Linked DNA regions of Homo sapiens: region 1 is linked to region 2. Evidence: promoter capture Hi-C in 16 types of primary human blood cells and fetal thymus (Javierre and others, 2016). All regions are on one chromosome and are shown on one strand. Each heading gives the region's core, a stretch centred on a gene start or on the middle of the fragment in contact. The rest is flanking DNA. Distances are from core to core; before and after follow the strand shown. Region 1 overlaps WDR7 (WD repeat domain 7). Region 2 holds the start of ONECUT2 (one cut homeobox 2).

Evidence for each region. The method cuts DNA at HindIII sites, captures the fragments that hold promoters and counts their contacts. A CHiCAGO score of 5 or more calls a contact.
Region 1: a fragment that was not itself captured here is called in contact with the fragment with the promoter of ONECUT2 in region 2 in 1 of 17 cell types (erythroblasts); the score reaches 6.1 in erythroblasts.

The regions. Positions count from the first base shown.
Region 1 is chr18:57,022,924-57,029,783 of GRCh38, forward strand. It overlaps WDR7 (WD repeat domain 7), which reads left to right. Exons shown (of 28, transcript NM_015285.3): 28 at 4,081-6,860. The coding sequence ends at 4,284. Among named protein-coding and RNA genes, the nearest start is that of WDR7-OT1, 14 kb to the right of the region's middle. The HindIII fragment of the contact is 1,194 bases long and covers 1,086-2,279 here.
Region 2 is chr18:57,432,211-57,439,809 of GRCh38, forward strand. ONECUT2 (one cut homeobox 2) reads left to right here and starts at 3,164. Exons shown (of 2, transcript NM_004852.3): 1 at 3,164-4,734. The coding sequence starts at 3,507. RefSeq lists enhancers at 1,890-2,470, 2,471-3,050, 5,165-5,920, 6,677-7,432 and a silencer at 3,044-3,093. The HindIII fragment of the contact is 9,553 bases long and covers 2,780-7,599 here.

The DNA.
Region 1 (6,860 bases), core at 433-2,932, 410 kb before region 2:
ATGTCCTTAATCCACAAGCTCACCTACTCCAAGGGCTGCTTCCTGTTATTTGCACATGCCAAAGCCAAAGCAGCCCAGGCAACACCCAGGTCATTCTTGCCTCTAAAACCAATGTCGGAATTTAACATACAGCCCATTTCTTCATGTTTATGTTGTACCAAACTCAGTCTTGAAATTTTAATGGAAGATACAAAAACAAGTCCTTTCAGCTTTCTCAGGAAAATGCAATGAAATCTCTTCCAGAATTGTAGTTGTCTTATTTGAATTAAGAGTCCAAAAAACAGTATTAGATCTACTGCTGCTCTCCCCAAATGGGCTTTGCTGATTTATTTAGATACATGTTGTTTCGTTGTAATGATGTATCAGAATACTTTTATATTATTCCAGTAAGTGTACTGTAATATATTTTGAAAAGTTAATGAAGTCTTATTAATACAGAGCCTTACTAAAGCTATCAGCTATTAAAATCTTTGCTGAGAAATGAGTGTTAATGAGAAATATTGGTTGGATAATTACTCAAGTGAGACTTAGTAAGGTCTGTGTGCAGCATTACTTACATTGGGAATAGCATTAAAACATTTCCTGTTGTGATGAATTATAGCTGTGTTTCTGTGTGTTCAGAAAATAATCTTCAAAGAACCAGTTTTGTGAAGCGTTTATTTTTGAAGGGAAGAAAAAAGCCAAAGTTACACTTGAGTGAATTTACATTCTCATCTATCAAATGATGTAATTTGGCAGTCTTTCAAGCCCTTTGATTTTCTAACCCCGTTTTCTACAATTTGAATATTTCACTTCTCTGTATCCATTGGCATTTGAGCAAGAGGAGGAGTTTAGTAATGAAATACAGTCACAATTCTCTCACCCAAATCTTACCACCACTGTCCAGCAAATATCCTTTTTCAGAAATGCTGATAATAAATTAGGTAGATACTGGTTTCGTTTATTTTTATTTACTCCATTGTATAGTAGAATACTATTCAGCCATTTAAAAGGAATAATGTAAATTTGTAGTCATTAACAAGAGAAGACTGCCATCAGCATTTTGTTGAACAAAAAGGCAAATTATGAAACTACATTTTAATATAAGCTTGTTTATATAAAATTTATTAACTCTGCTTCTCTTCATCTTTATGTATATGTGGAGGTCTGGAAGGTTGTTTACCAAAATTTTAACAGTGACTGTCTTTGGGAAAAGATATTTCAGGGGTTTTTTGCTTTCCTTTTTGTACTTTTCTTTATTATTTGAATTTTCCACAATGAGTATTTACTATCTTTGCAATCAGGAAAAAGTGAATGTTACCAAATCTCATAATTCCACATAGTTTGCATTCATTCAAGGCTCAAGATGTCCTTACTCGAGCATCGTTTGTATCCAGTCGCTGTTCAAGAAAACATTAATATTGAAAAAATTGTTAGTTGTTTCAGAGAGAGTCATTTGTCTGAGTTTATTGGAAAAATTAATACCGTTACTATAATACTTCACATTCATGCCGAATTTGAAGAGGTCATAGGGAAAGGATGATCTTGAGCAATGCATTTTAGTGAACATGGGGGTCTTTATCGTTCCACATGTTATGTCCCTTACAGGATTTCACATATCCCTATTCTCAGACAGGAATAGGGATATGTGAGCTATGATAGTTATGTCCCTTATAGAATTTCACATATCCCTATTCTCAGGCAGGAATAGGGATATGTGAGCTATGATAGTTATGTCCCTTATAGAATTTCACATATCCCTATTCTCAGACAGGAATAGGGATATGTGAACTATGATAGTTATGTCCCTTACAGGATTTCACATATCCCTATTCTCAGACAGGAATAGGGATATGTGAGCTATGATAGTTATGTCCCTTATAGAATTTCACATATCCCTATTCTCAGACAGGAATAGGGATATGTGAGCTATGATAGTTATGTCCCTTACAGGATTTCACATATCCCTATTCTCAGGCAGGAATAGGGATATGTGAACTATGATAGTTATGTCCCTTATAGAATTTCACAAATCCCTATTCTCAGGCAGGAAGGCTATTTGACCTGACCAAAGGCATTTATCAAAGTAGGGATGGCTCAGGTTATAAGAGGAACCCAGTTGTAATGGCCTTTTCTAAAATCTTTACATCTAGAGTATTCCCATGAGATATTCTCTCCCTTTTCATGTTTAGCTCTCAACCCATTTTTTGTTCCTGGCTAAATTTGAAGAGAGGAATTAAAAATAAGGAAGTGTCTGAGCATTATATGCCCCTTGCATTTTGAATTACCAGCAGAAGTCAAGCTTCATACATATATTCATAGAAAATCCATAAAGAATGAAAAATACCTTGTAGTTATTTATCAACTGAGAAATTAGATTTTTTCTAAAACACACTACGCCTGTTGATGCCAGTTAATGTTAACCAGCAATCTTCTGTGTCATTTGGATCTATCAAATTAAGCTCATCATCATTATTTATATTTTAACTATTTGGGAACATCCAAGAAAGCAATAAGGCATTGATTTTTATCTTCTGTGAAGTTTTTGGGAAAAGGAGAGAAGGAAGCAAAGAAACACGCTTCTGAAAGGGTGACAGTAAGGAACTGCCTGGCTGGAAACAGGAACCGAACTTTAACAGAAAGAGTTAACAATAACCATACATTTGGTTTTAAAATGTGACCTCGTACACTAGTGATTTTTTTTCACCTCTGTGTTGTGTTCAGCGCTATTATTAATGCAGGAAAATCAGTAACATTAGTCATCTTAAAAGGGTTATTACTCAAGATGATTTAAATTGTGAAAATGTCAGTGGAGCCTGCACACACTCTGCTAGAGATGCCATGATTTACGCCCTCTGACACCATCCTGCTGCTGAGAAGGGCTAGAAAAAGGAATGGCTTGTGTTTTGCACTGATCCACATGCAGGGGATGATGTCAGTGATAACGCATCTTAAATGTCCTAGGATTTGCCAGAGTTTCATGGATCAACCATTTGTAGATGTTGGATCATAATCTGCATGCTTCATGCAAATCTCTAGAATCTTACATCGAGATGGAGGTTATACTGGAGAGAAGCATTGGAAATGAAAATTAGTACAAAGAAAAAGTGTTATTTCCAAGGCTTCTTTCCAGATTTTCAGTATTCTTTCCATGTGATATTATAATAGCACACATAATGCTATTGAAGATATTTTAAGTAATATTTAGAATCTAAAGAAATCTTCAGACTCAGTTGCTTAGGAAACAGTTCACTTAGACAGCTACCATTCAGTATTTAGTACTTCAACCTGAATGCATAGTTGTTCATGATTCATAATTTCCATGTTGTTTTTCATTTATGTGGCTGGATTAAGAAAACCTAAAATTTAAATCCAGAAAAACTGCCAAAAAGCAGAAGTTATCAATTGATAAAAAGGTATTGTCAATAAAATATTAACAGCAGACTCTCCTTAGTATGATAGCAAAACAGTGAGGCACAGACATAGTGTTGAGATGAAATTGATTCTGGTTCTGCACTTTATAATAAGCAAGAGCTTTCCAGAAAGCGAGTTTTTAAAAAGCAAGTGAAGAGTGAAGGTATTAGTAGGTGGGAAATGGGGGTGGAAGGGAGTCTTGAGCTTTATTTGATCCAATTGTCACTCTATCTACTGCTTAACTTTGCTTCCTTTTCTTGAACTAATTACAAATCCCAAAACTTGTCTTCGCTGACTCATCCTTCAGGGAGTGAGTGCAGTTAGCATTGTGGTAAAGAACATGAAAGTCTTCAGTTTTAAATATCCACAATTTCCAAATATCTGTGTTGTCTAAATGAACCATTTTATTAAGAGGTATAATTTAGCCCTCTTCCTAAAGATCCATGGACTCTCCTTTTGTCAGGTTCTACCCCTATAAAATTCCTCTAGATTTCTGCATTTACCATAACAGCATCGGAACAATTCCAAGCACACTGAAAGGAACTTTTGAGAGGTTAAGAACAAGCTTAGGTGAAGGAGAATAACCATGATGGAGGGGAAAGTAGCCAGGAGAGATCGACCCAGTCTCTGTGATAGGGAAAGGGAGAGGGCTGTTCAAGTGACACATGTGCTCTCCTGTCCCTCCAGATGAACACGTCACTGCTGGGAAGCATCGGCATGCTGAACTCGGCACCTCAGCTGCGCTGCATTAAAACCTACCAGGTGCCCCCTGTGCAGCCCGCGTCCCCCGGCTCCCACAATGCCCTCAAGCTGGCCCGGCTCATCTGGACTTCCAACCGCAACGTCATCCTCATGGCCCATGACGGGAAGGAGCACCGCTTCATGGTCTAATGCTGCTGCCTGCCGCCGTGACTGCGTTTTAGTTCTCTAAATTATCCAAGCCGATGTTGCTCTGTCCTTCCTCACACCAGATTGTTCCCAGGGGCCTGCCCACCCCAGTGCCATCCAGTGGCACGGCCGGGTCTTGTCACTTGTGCATGCTTCTCAGGGGCAGAACCCGCTCGTGCCATCTGTCGATTCAGAGGCACGCACACATGCTCTGCAGGATGTGGCCATCCTGTCACCAGGTAGTTTTTCCCTGCCAGAGATGGCAGGGGAAAGCCAGTGGTTCCTGGGAACGCTCTTGTTGCTTGGTGCAACAGAAGCACAAAAATCAATAAACACTGTGATTGCACTCCCAGCCCAGATCAGCATTTTTAGCCATCTCAACCGCACCTCTGAAGTGCTGCTTGAATCTGGCCGTTCTGACACTGGGTGTTGAGGTCATGTGGCAGTCCTCACGATTGAAATTATTGCCCTTTGAATTACCTAAAATATTGTTTACCAAAAAGATTCTGTGTTTACATGTTCTTTTCTTCTGGTGATTGCTAGGAAATTACTCAATCCAATTTCCTAGGGTTTAGCTACCACCTTCTTTATCAACAGCTAACCAATTTGAGATTCATGATTAATTATGTACACAAAAATATTTTCCTTGTAGAAAATAGTTTTCCAGACACTTAGCCTTCTGAAGTGCTCATCTCTTGCTTAAATGATAGTCTATTTAGTAGTTTAAAATAAAAATAATCACTCCCTATGATCTAGTTAATGTAATTATCCAGTCACTGTAACTAATCTCTTGAAGGGACTTTTGTGATAAAGAGCCAAGTTCAGAAGCATAGCGTGTACCGAAAATGAAGACTCTCCTATCTACTGCTACAGATCCTGTTGAAGAAAGAGCTTACCCCTTTCCCCCGGAAAACTTGCAATCCTGTAGTTCCCATATGTGTGGCATATGTCAGTTATGAAATTATTATAATTCAGCCTTCAAACTACTACTGATCAACTAAAGGAAAGCTAATAAGGTATTTCTTTTAAACAAGTATTCTGGAAAAGTAATAACTATGGCACAAATGTTCAGGAGTGTATATAAAAATATGTGGGCTCTCGATTTATTTGAGCAAACATTGCAATGAGGGTGTTCATTATGCTTCTAAGTAAGCTTTAACTAGACCACTTTCTTCTTATGTCAGATTGTGCTGGTTCTAGCTCATAATAATGAAAAAAATAGAATTATATTTTGTATGAATTGTTTCTAACAAACCTTGATCTGTATATACTTGTGAGGGGTTGTTTGGTTGCCTAATTGTTGATTGGTTGGTTAGTTGGGCAAAATCATTTATTACATGCAAAAATAGAAAATTATTTGTTAAATTCAGAGAAAATATGTGAAGTTTACAAAGGAACCAAAATGATAATGGGAGAATTTAGTCTTAAAAGTTTAGGTTGTCAGAGTTTATCTGATATACAAAAAAGTAGGATCAAAGTCTAGGAACAAACATTGGTTATTTCACTGAAACAGATTTTTAAAGAGCATATTAAGAAATTAAGACCATTAGATCATCTCTTTCATAATGATATGATGTTATTTCCATTGACGGCAAATCTATACTGTTCCTTGGTTTTAGAGTTGGGTATTCTTTCAAAAGTGAATTTAGGCACATGCATGTACATTGTATTTATAAAGATTATATATGTAGTTTCCAAGGAAGAAACAAAGACCTATACAGTTTAGACTTTATTTGTTTGGTGAACGTGCTGTTGTGTTTGGCATAGCTAGAGAAATGTAAGGTAAAAGGCTCACTTTGTTTTCCAGTGGGTCCAGAGTCTTCTCTATACCCAACATATGTTTACTTTATGAACTTAAATGGAAATTAATTTATTGTAGACTACATCTCTATTTGGAATGATGAGGTAAATGTATACCTTAGCATTTTCTTTAACAAAAATGTTCTGTGTGTCAGGAAAGAGGTGTGAGAGTGGTAGGCAGCCTGCCGCAAACACACGGATGGCTCCCCCCGCCACGAAGGTTGAGAACAAAGCCAGGGGGCCCAGAGGAGCAATAGCCCTGGGCCACAAGCGTGGGTAGGCCTTTCACGTATTCCGTCTGCACAGGCAACCAAGGCCAGTAGAAAGCTATGGCTGCAAAACCCTGGGGTGGACGATGTTTGATGATTAGACGGTCATCTCTAACTACTAAACTAATATCTGCATTCTTGTTAACATAAATCTCTCCTTGGCTATTTTAATAGCCACAGTCCCAAACTTCATCCCAGCTTAGATTTCTCAGCACTGAGGTAAACTCTGCATTGTCATCCCAGCGTACACCTTTAATGTTTTATTGATTTCACTGGCACTGTATTTGGACCTGTCCTTGTATATGTAGAGACATATGTGGCTTCATTGGTAATTTACAAGCAAAAGATGACATGACGTGACACCTGTATGAAAATGTGATGATTGAACTCCCTGTGTACAGCGAGTGAATTAAAATGTCTGCCTCTCCAGACATTTCTTAATGATTCCACTTAATAGACTCTATGTGTGCTGAATGTTCCTGTGTACATATGTGTGTTAAATAAAACAAT
Region 2 (7,599 bases), core at 1,914-4,413:
ATTGCTAACTCAAGTTCAGAATGTTTTTCTTTTACAGTGCAATAGCCTATAATAGTCTTGTTGTCGAAGCTGCATTTTATTTTCATGCTTCTTTTGACCCATTTAAGTTTCTGATCTTCAAGAAAATTGGACCTGTGAATGTGGCATGCTAAGTGAATATCCAGGTCCTGATATAATGCTTGGTACAACTGTTTGTCCAGATTCTAATAGCCGTGAATTAGCACTTATCATACCACATTTCTATACAGTGTGTTTGTAAATCAAATGCTGGTGGGGAGGGGGGAGAAGAGGAGTGTAACTTCAAATTAAAAGAAAAAATTCCAAGTTGCAGAACTTCTTAAGGTTAAAGTATGGATGCTAAACAAGGGGCAGTTAGAAAGCCACTTTCCCTTATATTTTCTTAAAGAACTATAGAGAAAGAAACATCAAAAATATTTCAAAAAATACTTGAAAATCGTATTAGTATTGATACTCCAAAAATTGTCTTGAAGTAAAAAACAAATATTGTTCCTTTTTAGAAAGAAAGAGAAAAGGGCATCCAAACCTAATTCAGTAAAAATTAGGGTGCTCACTAAACAAGCACATCCATTTTCCTTTTAAATGGATTTTGGGTTGAAACATAAAACCTCAAACCACCATTATAAAAACAACGTGAAAAATCTGCTTTAATTCTAGTCCAATGAAATTATACACAAAGAAGCCAATACGATTTCATGATTTCCCTGAGATCGCCAATATTGATCGAGGGAAGGCGGAGGGATGGTGGGAGTGAGGGAGGAGGGAGGGAGGAAGGAAGGAAGCGAGGCAGCGAGAAAATGCAACTCACCTTTCTGCTCCCAGGCACACCGAAATATAATTCCCAAAAGCAGGTTTATCTCAGTGTCCTGGCAAATGAGTTTAACATTTTGAAAATTTATTTAAATGGCAATTTATATACCTAGGTTTCTGTATGGAGGAAGCATCAGCCTAGGGTAACTGGCCACTCCTTGAGACTGAAGCCAGCAGAGCAGCAGAGGCTACCTTAGCACTGGGGCATATCAGACCCACTACTTCCCAGTTCTGCTTCTCTCCTGCTGTATTTCAGTCCCTGTGCACTCATGGACCAAGAACAGGTTGCACTCTCGTGAACTTTTGCTCAACTCAGTATTATATTTCAAACATTAACTGACTCAAATCATCCCAAGTGTCCAGATGCCATATATAAGGTAGGGAGTGCGAAGAGAGACAGTAGGAGGGGGTGAGGAGGAGAGGAAAAACAGAGAAACCAAAATCTGAGTTATTTTACCTGGCTCCTGTTGTGACACTAGAGATGTGAGCAACCAGAAAAGTATGTCTGGCAAACCAGAGGATCTGCCGCTTTCTTACTCAGGCTTTGATAACACAGAGAAGACGCTATTTGAAAGAATAATTGGCAGCGTATTGGCCAGAGCTCAATGAAGTTGATCTATGAATAACGTCACTGTACATTCATGTGACAGGGTGGGGGTGGGGGTGTTGCTCTGAAGCAAGAAGAGAGAGGAGGGCGGCAGAAAAGGTCACTGAGACTAAGAACTGTTTTCCAAATGAATCAAACCTTTCTCTGGCACCAAGAAGGGACATACAGTATTCCGAGCTCTGCCCTTGTTTTCTTATCAAGTTTTCTCTAACAGCTGGAAGTGGTTGAAGGGGGCTGTCTTAAGGAGACCCCCTGCTCTTCTTTTGACAGCTGATCAAAAGAAAATAGGTCACGCTTCTCAAACTTATGTCCACCCTGTCCTTAATTACTGTCTCTTTAAACAAAGGCAACATCTGCGCAACCTCAGCTAGCTTGAATCTTCGGAGGCAAACAGAGCGCAACCTGCTTTGGAAGAATCTTGTTACGTTTAAGGCTTTATGCCGGGTGTTGGCCTCTCTGTCTTCAACTACCCCTCCACCCCGACTCGGACTGCAGAAATCTCCAACTCTCTGTCCCCCAGTTCCACTCCCACCTCCAGACCTGGGGTTGCCAAACAACGGAAATTCTAGGAAGACGTAGGTGCGGTTTTTAAAGCCTTGGCTTGTGAGCGTTCTCAGGCTGGCCGGGGCGCTGGTCTTTTCAGAAACAAGGTTTGAATATGCAGGTGTCAGCCAGGATTCCTTGTCGTCTGCCCACCGCCGTTTCTCTCCCGGGATTTGAGAGAAGCGGGAGTGTGTGTGTGTGTGTGTGTGTGTGTGTGTGCGCGTGTGTGTGTCTCGTGTTAGGAGAAAGGTCCGTGGTTGCCGTCTCAGCTGGTTTGCTTACTCTCTGCCCCCAGGAGAAGTTTGCTCACTTGGGACACCAGCGACCCTCCTCACCTCCACCTCACCGGTTCTACACTCTCCCCACTTCTTTCCAAGTCGCTGATGCAGAAAGCACTTGGTCACCTTGAAACGGCAGCTCCCGGAATTCTAGTTTTGTTTTGCAATCTAGCAGGGCTCTTCGGAAGCCTCATAACTGAGATTTATGGGCTCACCGGGTAATTAAATGATGTTATTGTGTTAACTTTGCATGCATTACTGCTGCCCGCGCCGCCCGTGGGCCGCCGGCCGGCCGCAGCTCGCTGGCGACGAGGGCACTACAGTTGCTCTGACCGCGTAGATTATGCATGTCCCGGCCTCGGGAATTTACCATGCATTAGAATACATTAGCGCCTGCATTTTAAAAGGCTAAACTATTGGCTCCCAGCTAGGGACTCTCGGTAAGTGGCTTGTTAGTGACGAGTGTTTGTCTATACTGGCACATAGCGGAGTCTTTTGCTCCCGGCTTACTCGCCTCCAGGAAAGCTTTGGGGTGAGGCGAAGGCGATTGAAGCAATGCCCCTTCCCCCAGATCGCAGCTGCTCAGGGGGGACACAGCACGGCATCTTTCACCGAATCTCTCTCGCTCGCTCGCACTCCAGCCTCCCTCTCCCCAGCGACCCCCCCACCTTCTCCTCCCTCCCTCTCCTTGACGTTTGATTCCAGTAGCAAAGGAGGTAAAAAAGGCACCGAGCCGTCAGCCAAACCTGAAAAGTGCGGCCCCGCCCCCTCCACAGCCACTGGTAGCTTCCCGTGGAAGGCCCGCCTCCCGGGGCAGCTGCGGCCTCGGAGTGGTTGCGCTTGGCGCCCGTCGGGCGTGGCCCCGCCCCAGGTCCGGGAGGGTAGGTTGGCTGCCCCGGCGAGCGGCAGAGCCCTTCTGGACAGCTCCCGCTCACCCAAACAGAAGACGTCGGCGCCGGAGCGGGCTCGGACATGGCGAGGCTGCGAGCCGGCCCGAGCGGCGGGGCCCGGTGATCCCTCCCTCCCTCCCCGTCCCCTCCCCTCTCCCGCACGCACGCCCCGTCCGCCCCCACCCCGCCCCCACCCCGGGCGAGCCCGCCCGCAGCCCGGGGCGCACACCCGCACGCGCACTCCTCTCCACTCACTCCCGCGCCCGCCCCCACTCCCGCAGCCGAGCCCCGCCACGCGCGCCTTGCCCGCCCGCCGGCCGCCCCCGCCGCCCCCGCCGCCCCCGGGCCCTGATGGACTGAATGAAGGCTGCCTACACCGCCTATCGATGCCTCACCAAAGACCTAGAAGGCTGCGCCATGAACCCGGAGCTGACAATGGAAAGTCTGGGCACTTTGCACGGGCCGGCCGGCGGCGGCAGTGGCGGGGGCGGCGGCGGGGGCGGCGGGGGCGGCGGCGGGGGCCCGGGCCATGAGCAGGAGCTGCTGGCCAGCCCCAGCCCCCACCACGCGGGCCGCGGCGCCGCTGGCTCGCTGCGGGGCCCTCCGCCGCCTCCAACCGCGCACCAGGAGCTGGGCACGGCGGCAGCGGCGGCAGCGGCGGCGTCGCGCTCGGCCATGGTCACCAGCATGGCCTCGATCCTGGACGGCGGCGACTACCGGCCCGAGCTCTCCATCCCGCTGCACCACGCCATGAGCATGTCCTGCGACTCGTCTCCGCCTGGCATGGGCATGAGCAACACCTACACCACGCTGACACCGCTCCAGCCGCTGCCACCCATCTCCACCGTGTCTGACAAGTTCCACCACCCTCACCCGCACCACCATCCGCACCACCACCACCACCACCACCACCAGCGCCTGTCCGGCAACGTCAGCGGCAGCTTCACCCTCATGCGCGACGAGCGCGGGCTCCCGGCCATGAACAACCTCTACAGTCCCTACAAGGAGATGCCCGGCATGAGCCAGAGCCTGTCCCCGCTGGCCGCCACGCCGCTGGGCAACGGGCTAGGCGGCCTCCACAACGCGCAGCAGAGTCTGCCCAACTACGGTCCGCCGGGCCACGACAAAATGCTCAGCCCCAACTTCGACGCGCACCACACTGCCATGCTGACCCGCGGTGAGCAACACCTGTCCCGCGGCCTGGGCACCCCACCTGCGGCCATGATGTCGCACCTGAACGGCCTGCACCACCCGGGCCACACTCAGTCTCACGGGCCGGTGCTGGCACCCAGTCGCGAGCGGCCACCCTCGTCCTCATCGGGCTCGCAGGTGGCCACGTCGGGCCAGCTGGAAGAAATCAACACCAAAGAGGTGGCCCAGCGCATCACAGCGGAGCTGAAGCGCTACAGTATCCCCCAGGCGATCTTTGCGCAGAGGGTGCTGTGCCGGTCTCAGGGGACTCTCTCCGACCTGCTCCGGAATCCAAAACCGTGGAGTAAACTCAAATCTGGCAGGGAGACCTTCCGCAGGATGTGGAAGTGGCTTCAGGAGCCCGAGTTCCAGCGCATGTCCGCCTTACGCCTGGCAGGTAAGGCCGGGGCTAGCCAGGGGCCAGGCTGCTGGGAAGAGGGCTCCGGGTCCGGTGCTTGTGGCCCAAGTCTGCGCGCCGAGTCACTTCTCTTGATTCTTTCCTTCTCTTTCCTATACACGTCCTCTTTCTTCTCGTTTTTATTTCTTCTTCCATTTTCTCTTTCTCTTCCGCTCTTCCCCTACTTTCCCTTCTCCCTTTTCTTTTTCTTTCTTACTCTCTCCTTGTCCCTGAGCTTTCATTGACCGACCCCCCCCCATTTCATTCGCCCTCCCCTCAATGTGCCAACCTTTGCCCTATTTCCGATCTTCCCAGGTACTGGGAGGCGGGATGGGGGTGTGCGTTTTCCTCTAGGAGCCCTGTCTTTCCAAGACCCACAGAAACCAGGACCTGCCCTTATTCAAAACCCCATGCACTTCAAGTCTCTTTTAGACAACACATTTCAATTTTCCGGGCTGACTAGTCTCCCTGTGCAGAGGCAGTTGAGAGGCTTTGCTCTGCAGAGGGAAAAGAGCTCTCTACTCTCCCACCCACCATATAGGCAAACTTATTTGGTCATTGGCTGAAGGCACAGCCTTGCCCCCGCGGGGAACCGGCGGCCAGGATACAACAGCGCTCCTGGAGCCCATCTCTGGCCTTGGCGTTGGCGCAGGGACTTTCTGACCGGGCTTGAGGGGCTCGGGCCAGCTCCAATGTCACTACCTACAGCGAGGGCAGGGTGTAAGGTTGAGAAGGTCACATTCACCGCTTTGGGAGGACGTGGGAGAAGAGACTGAGGTGGAAAGCGCTTTGCCTTGCTCACCGGCCGTCCTTGCCCCGGTCCCAGCGTTTGCTGGGATTTGCCAGGATTTGCCGGGGCTCCGGGAGACCCTGAGCACTCGCAGGAAGAGGTGCTGAGAAATTAAAAATTCAGGTTAGTTAATGCATCCCTGCCGCCGGCTGCAGGCTCCGCCTTTGCATTAAGCGGGCGCTGATTGTGCGCGCCTGGCGACCGCGGGGAGGACTGGCGGCCCGCGGGAGGGGACGGGTAGAGGCGCGGGTTACATTGTTCTGGAGCCGGCTCGGCTCTTTGTGCCTCCTCTAGCGGCCAAGCTGCGAGGTACAGCCCTCTATTGTTCTAGGAGCACAGAAACCTCCTGTGTGGGCGGCGGGTGCGCGAGCTAGAGGGAAAGATGCAGTAGTTACTGCGACTGGCACGCAGTTGCGCGCTTTTGTGCGCACGGACCCCGCGCGGTGTGCGTGGCGACTGCGCTGCCCCTAGGAGCAAGCCACGGGCCCAGAGGGGCAAAATGTCCAGGTCCCCCGCTGGGAAGGACACACTATACCCTATGGCAAGCCAGGGTGGGCGACTTCCCATGGATCGGGTGGAGGGGGGTATCTTTCAGGATCGGCGGGCGGTCTAGGGGAACAATTCGTGGTGGCGATGATTTGCATAGCGCGGGTCTTGGGATGCGCGCGGTTCCGAGCCAGCCTCGCACAGCTCGCTTCCGGAGCTGCGAGCTCAGGTTTCCACCCCCGATCCCCCGGGCTTTCCTCGCACCGCTGAGCCCAGCTTGTGGGGTGCACTCGACCAACGCCCGACAGGGCTGGGGAATGTGACAGGCAGCAGGTTCACCCGGGCTTGGGGAGGGGGAGTTTCCGCTTTGACAGCATTTTCCTTTGCCGTCTGCTGGTGGATTCCTATTCCCAGTCGGTAATCGCCCCGCAGTGTTGATCTAAGAAGGTAAAGAAAACTAGGTTTCCCTGCAAAGAGCCTCCCCCAAATCGGCGGACTCCGGATACTTTGAGTGGATTTAGAAATTTATGTAATCTTTCTCCTTTAGTTTATTTTTCATCCTCTCCTACAGTTTTCTCTGATTTGCTGTTGGTTCGGGGCAAGATAAAGCAGCCAGTAGAGAGCGATAATAATAGCGGCGGGAAATGAACTGGAGACTGGCTGACAGTTCTTAACATTTTGTCATAGATCCCCCCGAATGTCCCAGGCTGTCTCTGGTGGGTTTTAGTACCCGCCGGCTTCTTGGGCACCGGGGACCAGAAGGAACTTGGCAGCTGGTCTTAGGGGTACAGTTAAAGGCAGGATGACAGCTATTCTCCTGCTCATCTCAGAGCGCTGCCGCCCCCTCATGCCGGTCGCGCAAAGAACACAGCTTTTAAAAAACACGTGCCTTCTGCCCATATAGGTCTGAAAGTGATGAGGAAAGTAATGCTTCGCCTATTAGCGAGTTTCAGCTTTTAAAATGATCCCAAGCGTTGCTGAGATGAGAAAGCGTGGCATCCCGGGGGTCCTCAGCCCCACCCGCGCCCATGGTGCAAGTCTGCAGGGACAGGCCCGGGACAGCACTGCCCACGCTGCTAGATTTTCCGCAGAGGATCGCTGAAGCTGCCTTCGTGGGAGACAGAATGCCTCCTCCAGCGAGTGGAAAAGGCCTGCTGAGGACCCCGCTTTGCTCGAGCATTCAAATGTGTGTCTGTTTTATTACCCTGGGTTGAAAAGGGACAAGAGCTTTAGCCTTTTTATCTGGCCATTTTATCAGCAACTACAAGTGTGTTGAGTGGTTATTATTACATAGGAGGCTTTTCAGTTTGGGGTCAGTAGATCAGTCTCTTCAGACACTGATGCAGAAGCTGGGACTGGTAAGTAGGTATTATGTGCTCGGAGCGCTAGGGGACAGGAGCAAATGGAGAAGAAAAGCGGAGGCTTTCTCCGCCCGGAGTATCGATCGGAATCCCCGCCGGTACGCCGCAGAGGGCCCTCGCCGTTGGGCCCCGGGGGTTTAACAAGCCCAGCCGCTCCGCAGGCGGCTCGGCCGGACTCTCAGACCGGTGCCTGGAAGACACCGTCCCTGCCCCCCTCCCGCCAAACCT